Regions from separate parts of the Homo sapiens genome. Here region 1 is linked to region 2. The links are contacts of gene promoters, found by promoter capture Hi-C in blood cells and fetal thymus (Javierre and others, 2016). All regions are on one chromosome and are shown on one strand. Each heading gives the region's core, a stretch centred on a gene start or on the middle of the fragment in contact. The rest is flanking DNA. Distances are from core to core; before and after follow the strand shown.

Region 1 (7,464 bases), core at 3,373-5,872, 470 kb before region 2:
ATGAGCCGAGATCGTGCCACTGCACTCCAGCCCTGGGCAAAACAGCGGGACTCCATCTCAAAAAAAGAAAAAAAAAAAAAAAGAACAAATACTATATGATTCCACTCATATGAGGTCAAGTTCTTAGAGAGGGAGGGTAGAATGGTGGGTGCCACAATGGTGGGTGCTGGGGGCTGGGAGAGGGGAACTGGGCGTTTGTGTTTAGTGATACAGAGTTCAGTTTTACAAAATGAAAGGAGCTATGGAGAGGGATCCTGGTGATGGTTACATGACAATGTGAATGTTCTTAATGCCATTAAATGGTATACTTAGAACGGTTAAAAATGGTATATTTTATGTTATGTCTATTTTATCACAATTTCAAAAATGTATGTCTAATCCCAGCACTTTGGGAGGACAAGGTGGGTGGATCGCTTGAGGTCAAGAGTTCGAGACCAGTCTGGCCAACATGGTGAAACCCTGTTTCTACTAAAAATACAAAAATTAAGCAGGCATGGTGATGCACACCTATAGTCCCAGCTACTTGGGAGGCTGAGACAGGAGAATCGCTTGAACCTGGGAAGCAGAGGTTGCAGTGAGCTGAGGTGGCACCACTGCACTCCAGCCTGGGTGACTAGCAAAACTCCATCTCAAAAAAATAATAATAATAATTATGTCATGGGTCTCCTCGCAAGTGAGAGAGGGAGAGGGAGGAAGGGGAGAGGTTATCAAGGGCTCTCTCTGGCTTTTACTGGCCATTATCTCCTTTACGCATTTCTACATTTTTTAGTGCCTTTATGACAATCATATGCTGCTTTTACAATTAGAAAAGGAAAGAGGGTCACTTATTGAAGCCCCCTTACCTCCCACCTCTTCCCCTCCCTTCCACTGACCCTCCCTTTGTCTTCTTGAGTGCTTGTCCCTAAAGGTGGAAAAGATATTATTAGACCCATTTTGCAAAGGAGAAAATAGAGACTCTGAGAGGAAAAATGAATTACCCAAGGCCACAGCCCAGTACCTGGTGATGCCTGGAACCAGGCCAGATCCTGCTGGGGTCACCAGGACCCCACCCCGCCCCCTACCCCGCCCCCCCCCACCACCACCACCCTGCCTTCCTGCAAAGGCGAAATCACTGAACACCAAAATCCCCTGCTCATCATCCCTGCTGGGGCTATTTCTGTTTTAAATAGCTGGAGGCTTTGCCTAGCAGAGATTCTGTGAAATACAGCAGGGTGGTCATGTCTGGGGTGTGTCCCTGTACAAACCAGGCTCACCACTGCACCAGAAATCAGGTCTGCTCTGACCTGACCACACACACCCAGAACAGCAACGTTCTGACTTACATGATCCAGATAATCCCCGGCCTGCCCTCCCGCCCCGTGAGCATGGACACTACCGGAAGGGCGGCTGCGGGAGCTGGCCCGTCTGTGCTCATGGCTCTCTGCTATGTTGCCATTTCCAGGGAAGCATTTGCCGCATTTTGTGTTGATTGATGTCCCCCACCCTGCCCCCCTACCCCGGCATCACCTCAGACCCCTGCAGAGGCCAGGGCTGAAGCCCAGCTCCTTCAGGGACACAGGCGCTCCGATGCCTTTGACCAGCTGGGCACGGGCTGGCCCCACGTTTTCAGCACTCTCCTTTTTTTCTTAAATAAAAGAGCTGGCAGGGGAGGCAGTTTCTAGAGTGTTTGAATTGGCCCCATTTATAAATCTGTCCTTTTTTTTTCTCTTACGGATACTATAACCACAAACTGCATTCGCTTACAGTCACTTTTACACTTGGTTCTCTTCGGCTTATTATCTGCAATTCTAAGAGATGTCTGTGATAACTAAGCTGTTTCTACACACAGCCTTGCTGCGGTGTTGGAAGCCATGAGCCAACTGCGGGTGGGCTGGAGTCTGTGTGGTTCTGAGCGGCTGAGATGAGCCAGCCCCACTGCGCCTGGGTCCTACATCTACAAAACCGTGTTTTCCAGCTGGGAGAGACCAGGGCCCAGGGCTTCAAGAGCAGACAGGCAGGGAAATCCCTGGCCCAGGACCCTTGCTAGGCAGCCACCGGCCTCCTCAAACGCTCCCCCTTGTTGGCCCTTTGGCGGCAACAGTGTCTCCCTCTTCAATGGAGAAGACCGGGTCCTGCAGGGGACTTTTTAGCCGATTTTTTTCCCAGCTCGTATTGTGCAGGCTCTGAGCTGTGTTTATTTGGATCTTTCTGAAGAACCCTCTAACCGTATTCCATGTCTGTAGATGTGTTTGGCAGAGTTGTGCGGTTTTCATCTTCTTCTTTTTTAAGTTGCAAATGCTTAAAATTCTGCTGGCTTTTTAGCTCCCAAGGGAACCCCCCCATCTCCAGCCCCCATGTGCCGTTGCCATGGTGATCTCCCTTTCCCTTTAAAGTCTGGAATGCCGCATTCCATAAGATTTGCACAGAAAGTCGCTTGATCATAGGCAAAGGCCTGTCTGTCCGTCTCCAACATTCTGTATCAATAAACACGCTCTGAGACCCTCTCTCTGCCTTGCTGTTAGAAATCAGGCTTTGACCCTCATCTGAGGGACTCTGGAAGGGTCCAGGGCAAACGGGGTTCGGCCTGGTATTCGCAGATTGTCTCCCGTTCCCTTTCCTCGGTACATTAGCATTTTCATCTATCGTCACAAGAATATCAGTGTGAGTTAGAGCAGCGGTGCAATTATATATGCAGGGGAATGCAGCCCCAGGCTCCAAATATTGAATTTTACACAGATACTAAGGGCATGTAAAATGTTAAAGTACATTTAAGTCCTCAAATAAATAACTTTAATTACATAAAGAACTAGATTTCAAGGAAATTACGGTTATTTGCTATAGGAAATTAACCTCCAAGTCATGTTTACGACTTAATGGATAGTCATTTTGGGGAGAATTCTCTCTTCTTTGAGTCTACATGTTCAACCCTTTTCTGAAACAGGAATAGGACTAATTGCTCTTGAGTGAAAGATTGTTGTGTATTTTGTCTCAGATCAGATGGATGAAAGTAAACAAAAGATACAATGTTTCCTTATACAGAGAAGTTGCCTCCTCAAAAAAAAAAAAAAAATCCCACAATCAGAATAAAGCATCAGGAATAAGACCACCATTTTGTTATAACACAACATTCCTCTGTATTAAATAATGACGGGTTTTATGTTTGTTACTGAGCAGAGTTTTTTTTTTAATTATTTCAAGAGCATGTCCTTTAGTGTTTATAACTGGGCTGACTGTGATATTAAACAGCCAGGAGGTGTTAGCAGCTGATTAAAGGAGGGAAAGGAGACCCTGCTAATTATACGGCAACCTTAGAATCGGTTTCTCCCGCTGAACTAGAGGACAAGCCACACACCTGCAGAACTTTACCAGCAGGAGCAGTGCTGGGACCCAACTCAGGCAACCAGCTCTGCTAATGAACCCAGAAAAAGCACACAAACTTGTTTTCCCTCCAAGACAGAGACAACACAGTGGGGTTTTCAGAAGTGTGTGGTGTGGAAGCAGCCAGGTGTAGCCACTGCACAAATGCAGTGGGAACACTCTCGTATGATAAAATCAAAGACGATGTCGCCTGCTTCCACATGACAGATCCAGGAAACTGCAGGATAGAATCACGCTCGTGTGCCTGGGCAGGGAGAGCTGGTTCACCCATGTCTGAACACTGGGACACCAGTTCTCCTCCAAACATCTTGGACTACTTAAATGCAAAGGTGAGTCTGGGTGTGGCTGAATTTGTGCATTGAATTTCTTTAACAGTAAATGTCAAGTGGAATACGGCATCAAGCTAGTTTCAGGAAACTTTCCACTCCAGTTATTTTGTTTTCTAATTATATGATATACTTTCTATCACAAGGCCCACTAGGATTTTTAAGTCTGATTTTTTTTAAAAAGTATTTATTATATAACAAGTTGATGGGCCAAGCACCTTCATTGTAGCACTGTGGCCATGCTTTTTAGAAAAGTGTTCTCCATTGCCATGATTGTGTTTGCATATCTATGCATAAATATGGGCAAAATGTTGCGTAAAGTTAAGCATGTACTAGAATTAGAGAAAAAAATTCTCAATTCTAGAAATGTTTGGAGACAGAATACTCTTTCCATTGCTAATTTAATGCAGGTTTTAAAAATGTTCTATAACTTTACAAAATTACAGATGGAAAAGATTTTTGTCCTTCTTCTTTATCTAGACAAATTCAGGAAAGCCCGGAGGCCTGGTATAGATGTTTCATCAAAAATTTCACCGTGCTGTGTCAGAAATCAGAAGACAGAATTTAGAACCATCCCGTTTCCTCTGCAGAAAGCTTTTCAAGAAGATACACTCGGAATTAGCAATATTTCCACCAAAATATGAAGTGTAAAGAGAGCCTTCAATAAAGCCACAGGTTTGATGTTTTTTCTTTTTAAAAGGAAAAAAACTAATTTAAAATTATTTTTAAAAGAAAAAAACCACAAGATAATGAAAATGAAGTTATACCTAGGCTGATATTGCATTTGCCAATATTTTACTCCCACTGTTTAATCATTTTAATAGTTGCATTTAAGAGTTTAGGATATTCAAACCTCACCCAGCTATAGCAAAAAAAAGAAAGCTGTGTGATTTAAGTAGTGTCCTTTTCTGCATAATTTTAAATTAGTTTTTATTTTTAATTAATTGTGAAATTGCTGGTGAGGCTTTGGTGCCTTCTTAACTGCTATAATGAACAAATTCATTTAAACTTCAATTTAGCAATCTACAGTTTTCTAAGAGCTCAAATAAATGAAAATTCAAACATAATTTTAAAAAAGGATTCCATTAACTACAAAAGGGTCTATATCAAGTTTATTAGAAAGTATGGAATTGCTACAAGAACACATTTTCAATTTTATAAATTAGTTTTCAGAGGCTTAAGCAGAACAACACATAGAGAGAAAAAGTAGAAGTTTGTTGGTTAAAAAAAAAAATCCCATTCTAATGAACCGAGGCTATAGCTTAAAACACAGCCAAAGCTTTAAAGCTTGGTCGTCCAGATTTCTGTGTGACCATTTTAACACAGGGCATCTCTAGTTCCCAATGGAAATATTTCTTTTCCGGCACTTTCATTTTCTGAAACAATTTACTGGAGTTTCATAAAAAGAGAATAACAGCTTTGTGTTTCATTGTTGAGGATTTTACTTCACTTTACATAACTTTTCCTCATTTCACTTAGTGGCTATTTGAGGAGCTTGACTGAACTCTAGGTAACCTCTTAGGTTATGCCTGCTGGATTTCAGGGACCTGGAGCTGCTGGTGCTGGCAGGCCAGTGGTGACTCGGGGTGCCTGTCTGACCGCCTAGGAGCTGGGACTGGGCTCTCTGCGTACATACAACTGCATGGGGGACAGGGGACTTCTGCCTTTGTTTGGACAAAGGATGCGGTAAGACCAGAGAAAAGGAAGGCTTTACCTGTGGCTCTTTGCACTTTTAATACTCTAGAAGGAAATAGTGAGTCTACTTTAATGGAAAATAGCGAATCTTTTGCAGGACTCAAAAAAGGAAGTTTGCTAAGAGCAAGGAAATGTGAAGGAGTTGGAGCGACAGCGTTAGAACATTTAATTTGGCTTTATGTTGTAATTATGACTTGCGGGAAGTGGCCTGGCGTGTATGAATGCTGTTGCTGGAAAGAGCACTTGAGCATCAGCGAAAATTCTGAAAGCTGTGTTTACAACGGACGCACACACAACAGAAAGCAAACCGTGGAGACGAGGGTTTTGGAAACGTGCCCTCCTCGGCATTCATTATAACCAATAATTAATTAAGAGATTTTTTAAAGTCCCTTCCTTGGCATCACGTTCCTCAGTGAGAATGCGGATGAGAAGTCAGAGGTGTTTGGGACATAAGTGCAAGTAGTTACGGGCAGGGTTTTTCAGTTTTGGTTTTTAAAGAGAATGAAAACGAAGTGGGGAGACAGCGGCACAGTGTGCGGTGCCCTGCCGGCCAGGCCACGCTTTCTCCACCCTGACTCCCACGTTCGCTCAACAGTATGAGAACTTCACGGTAACATGGAAGGGATCCCCGCACTCCCTCTAATGCTATTTCTGTTCGATGCGTTCTTTGGCTGCGAATTTGAGAACTGCCTTTTTGGCAAAGCCAGTGAGTTTTGTGTTTTCAGATCAACCGAAAGGACGTTGACTTTCAGGTTCCCGATCCTTCTGAATCCAATCCCAAATTTAAAACAGCATCCGATCCTGGCTACAGCCTGAGCTGGGCCCCAGGTCAGCCAAGCTTCCCAGGTGGAAAGGAAGGAATCCAGGTTGCCCAAGATGCTGTGGCCTGGGTGACAGTTACCAGCCTCCAGAGAGGCCTCAGCCTTCGGGGTGCCTTGCTCAGAGCAGGCACATACCTCTCACCGCAAGAGCCATCTGACCATGGTTACTCGACCCCTCCCCCAGAGTGAGTTCACTGTCCACCAGAGGGGACAGCTCCCACTGCCAGGCTTCGGTGAAACCACGTGGACTGTGGAAGCAACCCAGTGTCCACTGATGAATGAATGGAGAAACGAAAGGTGATTTATCCGTAGGGTGGGACAGCACCCGGCCTTGGAAAGGAAGGGAACATGGACGGCACCTAAGGATGTTCTGCTGAGTGAAACAACCAGCCACAAAAAGACGAACCTTGCACGATTCCACTCACATGAGGAAGCTAAGGGGTCAAAATCATAGAGACGGAAAGTAGGATTGCGGGTGCCAGGGCTGGGGGAGGAAACAGGGAGTTCGTGTTTCATGGGGGACAGAGTCTCATTTGGGAAGATGGAAAGTTCTGGAGCTGAATAGTGGTGACGGTTGCACAGCAGCGCAGATGTGCTTAATGCCACTGAAGTGTGCACTTAAAATGATAAAAATGGCAAATTTTATGTTATGTATGTTTCACCACAATAAAAAAGGGAATAGCATTTTTCTTGTCAAATGGGGCTGGTGGTAGCTGCTCTGTAGCCTCATAAAGAAGTTCCTAAGTTTTTTTTTTATTTCCTTTTTTTAAATTTGGGTTTAAAACTGCTGTTTCCTTTTTCACTGTGGTAAAATATACATAACATAAAATTTACCATTTGAACCATAAGTTAGCCCAGGCCCTGCTTCTGGCCCCTGCTCTTCCTGAGTCCTGGTTGGTGCCCCCTTCATCCGTCCATACTTGCCACAAGCCCCTCTTGTCCGGTCCTGGGCACAGAGGTCCTGGTGGAAGAGACAGTCCCTGCCCAAGAACAGGGAAGGACATAGATGGGAGAAGGGACCCACTGCCCAGGGGACCAGCACCAGAGCTCAGCTCTCGGGCTCCCTGCGTGGCCCTGGCCTCTCGACCTCGCTGGACTCAGTCTCCTGACGTCTCCAGTGAAGAGCTGGAGTGGTGAGTCCCAGAGCCACTTCCGGCATGGGACAGAGGCCTGTACCTCAACACCAGCGATTTGCTGTGTGATCTTAGGCAAGTCAATATGTGTCTCTGGGACATACAGTGAGTTGTCTAAGATCACACAAACCC
Region 2 (6,775 bases), core at 2,736-5,235:
TGGTGCAGAGGCCCTGTGAAGCCACTCAGGGACATGAACTGAGCTGAAGGACCACGAGGAGGACCTGGAACGGCATTTTACAAGAGTCCTTCAGGTGCAATGGAGGGAACAGATTCCAAAAAGAAAAGGAACTTTGGCTGGGCACAGTGGCTTACACCTGTAATCCCAGCACTTTGGGAGGCCGAGGTGGGTGGATCACTTGAGGTCAGCAGTTCAAGACCAGCCTGGCCAACAAGGTGAAACCCCGTCTCTACTAAAAATACAAAAATTAGCCAGGCATGGTGGTGGGCGTCTGTAATCCCAGCTACTCAGGAGGCTGAGGCAACAGAATTGTTTGAACCCGGGAGGTGGAGGTTGGAGTGAGTCAGAATCATGCCACAGGACTCCAGCCTGGGCAACGCAGTGAGACTCTGCCTCAAAAAAAAAGAAAGAAAAGAAAAGGAATTTCTCAACCTAGTTTGCTAAGACTAGAAGTTCTGCAAGGGTCTTTCTCCTCACCACGTGTCACTACTCACTTCTTAAGATGGTGGCAGGCTCCACACCTCACTGCTTTGGTTCTCTCCCTAATCATCCCTTCCCTCAGGTAACCTGTACCTCCTAATTAGCCCTAAAACCAGCTTTTAGGGCAATTATTTTTCCTGTTCCTCTCAACCACCACACCCAGCCAGGGTCCTGGGTTGTCTCAGACTGCAGTTTTTTGAAATGTGGTAGGTTACTGTAAAATCAATACAATTTGTAGCAACAAGCATTTTGAATAGCTGGGACCCTTACCAGCAGGCTGCATGGTATGTGGTAAGGACAGGTATGCTCATAGCCACATATCCTAGGTCAGCTAATAAAGCATATTTATTACGGGAAGACATGTTTTAAAAACAAGACAGTCCCACCCTAATGAGAGCCTCCTCTGGAATCAAGCCACAACTCCTTAATTTGCATCAAGTTAGGTATTAATGAATCTAGGAGTTTTCATTCCACACCACACTATGTAAGAGCTATGCTACTGTTTTTCTTGAGATGACAGGTAGAATATTAAGAGCATCCTGCATTTAACATTCCTGGAACATTTTCATTTTGTCCCTGTTGAGGTTTTCCCAGGATGCTGGCAGTTAAAATTGTGAGCAATAGGCTGGGTACAGTAGCTCACACCTGTAATCTCGGCACTTTGGGAGGCCGAGGCAGGCGGATCACCTGAGGTCAGGAGTTCGAGATCAGGCCGGACAACATGGCGAAACCCCATCTCTACTAAAAATAGAAAAATTAGCTGGACATGGTGGCATGTGCCTGCAGTCCCAGCTACTCAGAAGGCTGAAACAGGAGAATTGCTTGAACCTGGGAGGCGTAAGTTGCAGTGAGTGGAGACTGTGTCACTGCACTCCAGCCTGGGCGACAGAGCAAGAATCCCTCTAAAAAAAAAAAAAAAATTGTGAACAATAACTGTAAGTGACAAGAGACATTAACGTCACAGTATCCACACTTAGCTTAATGAAACGGGGTGGTTAGTGTAGCTATAGCTAAAATACTAATATAGCAATGTGTGTATAATATTCAGTACAGTAAAGCATTTTCATAAGAGGCTCTCCACCTATTATCTGAAAATCCTTTCCAATATGTCAGTCATTCTAACAACTTTATCAAGTAGGTCATAATTTATTTATCTTTACACAGGGAGAGAAATCAACTTTGGCATTAGATGAGGAAGTCTATGGGAGAAGAGCAGACCAGTCGTTCCTAATTGGGAACATGCAACTCGTTCCACACACCCTATCTACCTGGCCAAGAAGGCAATTCTTTTTTTTTTTTTTTTTTTTTTTTTTTGAGACAGGGTCTTACTCTGTCACCCAGGCTAGAGTGCAGTGTTACAATCACAGCTCACTGCATCCTCAACCTTCCCGGCTCAAGCAATCTTCCCTACTCAGCCTCCTGAGTAGCTGGGATTACAGGTGCACCACCACACTCAGCTAATTTTTGTATTTTCAGTAGAGATGGAGTTTTAACCATGTTGGCCAGGCTGGTCTTGAACATCTGGGCTCAAGTGATCTGCCCGCCTTGGCCTCCCAGAGTGCTGGGATTACAGGCGTGAGCCACAGCACCCAGCCCATGTTCCTCCTCCTCTCCCATTAGGATTCCTCTGACCAACTATGCGGTAGTGACTGGACAGCCACCGTGAGCTGAGCGCCATCACTGCCCCACAAGGATAAGGCACACTCCCTGCACCTCCCTCCTGGGGCTCTGCATTTCAGTGGGACAGACAGGCCTGGGAGAATAAAGGTTTTGGCAGCCACAGCTAGAGTGGGCTGGGCTCACACTGGCTCTTGTTCCCTCTGGGTCAGAGGACGGGTACCCGCCTACTTCACGGGACGGTGGTGATGCGGCACATTGTCCCCCTCCCACCGGGCTATCCACACAGCAGGTCCTCTCCCCACACACTGTCCAGGACAGGCTGTAAGTGCTGCACCAGCTGGGAGGACATGACCAGGGCTGGCGAGGCCCTGGGATGTGGGTGGATTCGAGAGCATTTTTAGGCACTGTTTTAACACAGAGGCACACGCTCCAGGAGACCACACGTTATAAGCTAAGGTAGGAGGGCAGAACCAGTAAAGCAAAGTCTGTGCAAGAATAAGGCACCCAACCTGTTGAAAAGAGTGAGAAACAGAGCTTGAGGACCATCACCAGGTGAGGTCATGAGGCCCTGGAAGTCTGCAAGTCCAACCTGAATCCTAAATCCCAAAACACACCTCTGAGTTCCCACGTGCCCTTGGGTCCACCATGGAAATGGGTGCTGCGCCCGCTGCAGTGACGCTCCTGAGAGTTACCAGGGAGTTACCACGAGCCTTGACAGGTCCCACTCAACAGGGGATGTTTGTTGTGCAATTTCTATGTACCTTACCCAGTGCAGATCACCAGAGCCATGCTAATAAGCAAGCCAGGGTCTCCGTCACGGAGGAGCACACCATCCGCAAGTGGAAAAAGCTACAGAGACCACCAATCTCAACGTAGGGCAGGCTGTGCAGCTCTGTTACAGTCTTTCCTGCCAAGTCCCCCTACAGCCGCCTCCACTAAATCCACCCGCAGGCATTTATTAAGCACCCAAAATGTGGTATGGAGGGAAACTTTGGGGCAGAAGGGTTGTATAAAAAATATTATTTCCATTCTCCCAGGATTTAGGGAGTGCCTTCCACGTGCTACATACTTCAGGGCAAGCGAGAGGGGTTCTGCAAGGTTAGACGAGGCAGGAGTCACAGAAGCAGCTCTGCCAGCAATAATGGAAGATGCACTCTAAGGAAATACAAGGGCAGGCAGGGAAGAAGTAAGAATGCTCCTGAGGGCCCGGAGCCTCCTTGTAAGCGGCGGCCCGGAGCCGGGGGAGGGGCAGGACCTCCTCACGGAGGGCGCCGCGGAATTGGGCCTACAGGCCGGGCTCCCAGGCAGGGGCCGCACAGAACTCTCGCCCCGACCCCGGAACTGACCCCGGCCCCCGACCCGCACCCTGTGCCCGGCCCACACCCGGCCCTGAACAGGTCCCCGACCTGCACCCCGAGCCCGGCCCACACCCGGTTCACACCCGGCCCGGGCCCCGACTCCGGCCCAGCCCCGGCCCCCGACCCGCACCTGAGCCCGAGCCCGGCTCGCACCCGGCGCCACCCGGCCCGGGCCCTGACCTCGGCGCCCACCGGAATCCCGACCCGCACCTGGCCGGGCCCGGTCCCCGGCGCCCACCTCCGTGATGATGTCGTGCAGGTAGCGGAACGGGGGCTTGCTCAGCAGCTTCTCGGTCAGCGGCGGCCTCCGAATCACTTTCCCCAGCGCCTCCTGCGTCCGCCTCACCACCGCCGCGTTCATGACGGCGTCCGCCGCCCGCTGGCCGCCCGCGCCCCTCAGCCGGCCTGGCCGAGCCTAAGCCCGGGTCCCTGGCCGCCGCCGGCCCCGCCGCCGCCGCCGCCCGGTCCTGCCAGGACGCGCCGCTCCGGTTTCCATCCCACAGTGCACCGGAGCCCACCACAGCGCCTGCGCGGCCGCCGCAGGGCGTTCGGTCACTAGGGCTGCGCGGCCTTAGCAACGGACGCGCCGCGGCGCCCCGCCCCCTGCCCGCCTTCCAGCGCCCGCGCAGGCAGGAGTGGGGGTTCCGCGGGAGGGATTTGCGGGAGTGCGGCTGTGCCAGAGCAGGCGGGGCGCGGCGGGGCGGGGAAAGGGGATCTGGGATCGGGCGCCTGGCCCCTCCTCTGCCGAGCGACGGCCTCGGGAAGCCGGTGTTCGCTCGCGTTAGAGGCGACTGCCTGAGGACTGATTAAGAACAAGGTAACCTCCAAGATCTGTGCCGCCTGTTTCCCAAATCTCAAGGGCTTTCGAAGGCACTGGTTCATCGGAGGGGACGGCACTAAGTTATCCCAAAACACACGGAATAGAAAATACGCTGTCCTGGCTGGTAATTAATAAGGCTTCTTGGGCAAGTCACCTGTTTTCTCTGAGACTTCACTTCTGCTCCCACAAAGCAGGACTAGTGTGCCCGCTGCCTAACCCACCTCCCAAGAAGGTAAATGGTGACTAAATGCTGTGTCGGTGCTCTGAAACCGGGACAAAGCCATGCCTAGTTGTCCTACTAGGTGTCCGTGATTCTTTACCACCTGTCCTCTGTCCATCATGCACAGGCCTACCGCAGAAATCCTTCCGGCGATTTGAGAGCTCTGGGGTCTGTAGTTCTTCTAATGAGAACACCATTATAACCTTTTTTTTTTTTTGAGACGAAGTCTGACTCTGTCGCCCAGGCTGGAGTGCAGTGGCACGATCTTGGCTCACTGCAACCTCCACCTCCCAGGTTCAAGTGATTCTCCTGCCTCAGCCTCATGAGTAGCTGCGACTTCAGGCTCCCGACACCACACCAGCCTCGCTTTTGCATTATTAGTAGAGACGGGGTTTCACCATGTTGGCCAGGCAGGTCTGGAACTCCTGACTTCAGGCAATCCGTCCGCATCGGCCTCCCAAAGTGCTGGTATTACAGGTGTGCGCGACCGCCCCCATTATAACTTTTAAATTGACCTTCATTTTTACCATTTTCAGGCCTCCTCATTTTTTGTGGAGATCTAAATCGCCATCTGGTGTCATACCCCTCCTGTCTGAAGAACTTCCTTTAATATTTCTTCTAGCACAGTTCAGTTGGTAATGGAAAAGTTATACAGACAACCAATTTCAATGCCAGTCAGGCTGTATGGTTTATCAACAAATACTAAATTGCATTTTTATAGTTTTCCTTCCATGTCCCCCTATAACCACCTCCAGTAAATTCAGCCACAAATATTTATTAAGCATAGAAGTATAGAATTCTAGAGTTGGGAGGTCAGGAGTTCGAGACCAGCCTGACCAACATGGTGAAACCCCGTCTCTACTTAAAATACAAAATATTAGCTGGGTGCAGAGGCGGGCGCCTGTAATCCCAGCTACCAGGAAGGCTGAGGCAAGAGAATCACCTGAACCCAGGAGACAGAGCTTGCAGTGAGCCGAGGTCATGCCACTGCAATCCAGCCTGGGTGACAGAGTGAGACTCCGTCTCAAAAAAAAAAAAAAAGAATTCTAGGGGTACAGTGGCTCACGCCTGTAATCCCAGCACTTTGGGAGCCTGAGGCAGGCAGATCACTTAAGGTCAGGAGTTTGAGACCAGCCTGGCCAAAATGGTGAAAGCCTGTCTCTACTAAAAATATAAAAATTAGCTGGGCGTAGTGGTGTGTGCCTGTAACCCCAGCTACTTGGAAGGCTGAGGCACAAGAATCGCTTGAACCCGGGGGTTGGAGCTTGCAGTGAGCCAAGATGGCACCACTGCACTCCTGCCTGGGCAACAGAGCAAGACTCTGTCTTTAAAAAACAAAAACAAACAAAAAGAAAAGTGTAGCATTCTAGACTGACTGTTTTTGTTTTTCAGTACTTTAAGGATGTTACTCCATTGACTTCTGGCTTGCGTAGTTTCTGAATAAAAGTCTTCCGTAATTCTTTGTTCTTCTGTCTATTGTTTCTGGCTGCCTTCAAGATTTTATTTTTATTATTGGTTTGCCAGAAGTTTGCACATGGTATATCTAGATGTGGGGGTCTCTTCTACTTAAAATTTATATTTTATTATTTACATACAATAAAATTCACACATTTTAAGTGTGCAGGTTGATACATTTTGGTAATTATATACAATTATGTTACCACCACCACAATCAGAATACAGAACAGTCCCTGCACCCTAAAACATTTCTTGCTGCTTATTTGCAGCCCATCTCCTTCCCCACCCCAGCCCCAGGCAGCCACTAATCTGGTTTCTGTCATTATAATTTTGCCTCTTCTAGAGTTTCATATAAATGGAATCATGCAGTACACAGTCTTTTGTATTTCATTATTTCTCTTATATTTTTGAGATTCATTCATATTGTTACACGTATATTAATATGCCATTCCTTTTTGTGGCTGAATGGTATTTCATAGTGTAATTTGTTTATTCATCAGTTGATGGACATTTGGGTTGCTTTCAGTTTTTTATTTTTTATGAATAATGCTGCTGGCCAGGCATGGTGGCTCACACCTGTAATCCCAGCACTTCAGGAGGCTAAGGTGGGCAGATCACTTGAGGTCAGGGATTCAGCACCAGCCTGGCCAATGTGGTGAAACCCTGTCTCTACTAAAAATACAAAAATTAGCCAGTCGTGGTGGGGTGCATCTGTAATTCCAGCTACTCAGGAGGCTGAGGCACAAGAAATGTTTGAATCTGGGAGGCGGAGGTTGCAGTGAGCTGAGATCGTGTTAC

What was found. The method cuts DNA at HindIII sites, captures the fragments that hold promoters and counts their contacts. A CHiCAGO score of 5 or more calls a contact.
Region 1: a contact is called between a fragment that was not itself captured here and the fragment with the promoter of TRAF3IP1 in region 2, in 1 of 17 cell types (M0 macrophages). The highest score is 5.1, in M0 macrophages.

The regions. Positions count from the first base shown.
Region 1 is chr2:238,785,501-238,792,964 of GRCh38, reverse strand. No RefSeq gene overlaps it. Among named protein-coding and RNA genes, the nearest start is that of TWIST2, 59 kb to the left of the region's middle. The HindIII fragment of the contact is 685 bases long and covers 4,280-4,964 here.
Region 2 is chr2:238,317,728-238,324,502 of GRCh38, reverse strand. TRAF3IP1 (TRAF3 interacting protein 1) reads right to left here and starts at 3,985. Exons shown (of 17, transcript NM_015650.4): 1 at 3,718-3,985. The coding sequence starts at 3,840. RefSeq lists silencers at 3,492-3,721, 3,852-4,331. The HindIII fragment of the contact is 10,073 bases long and covers 1-6,775 here.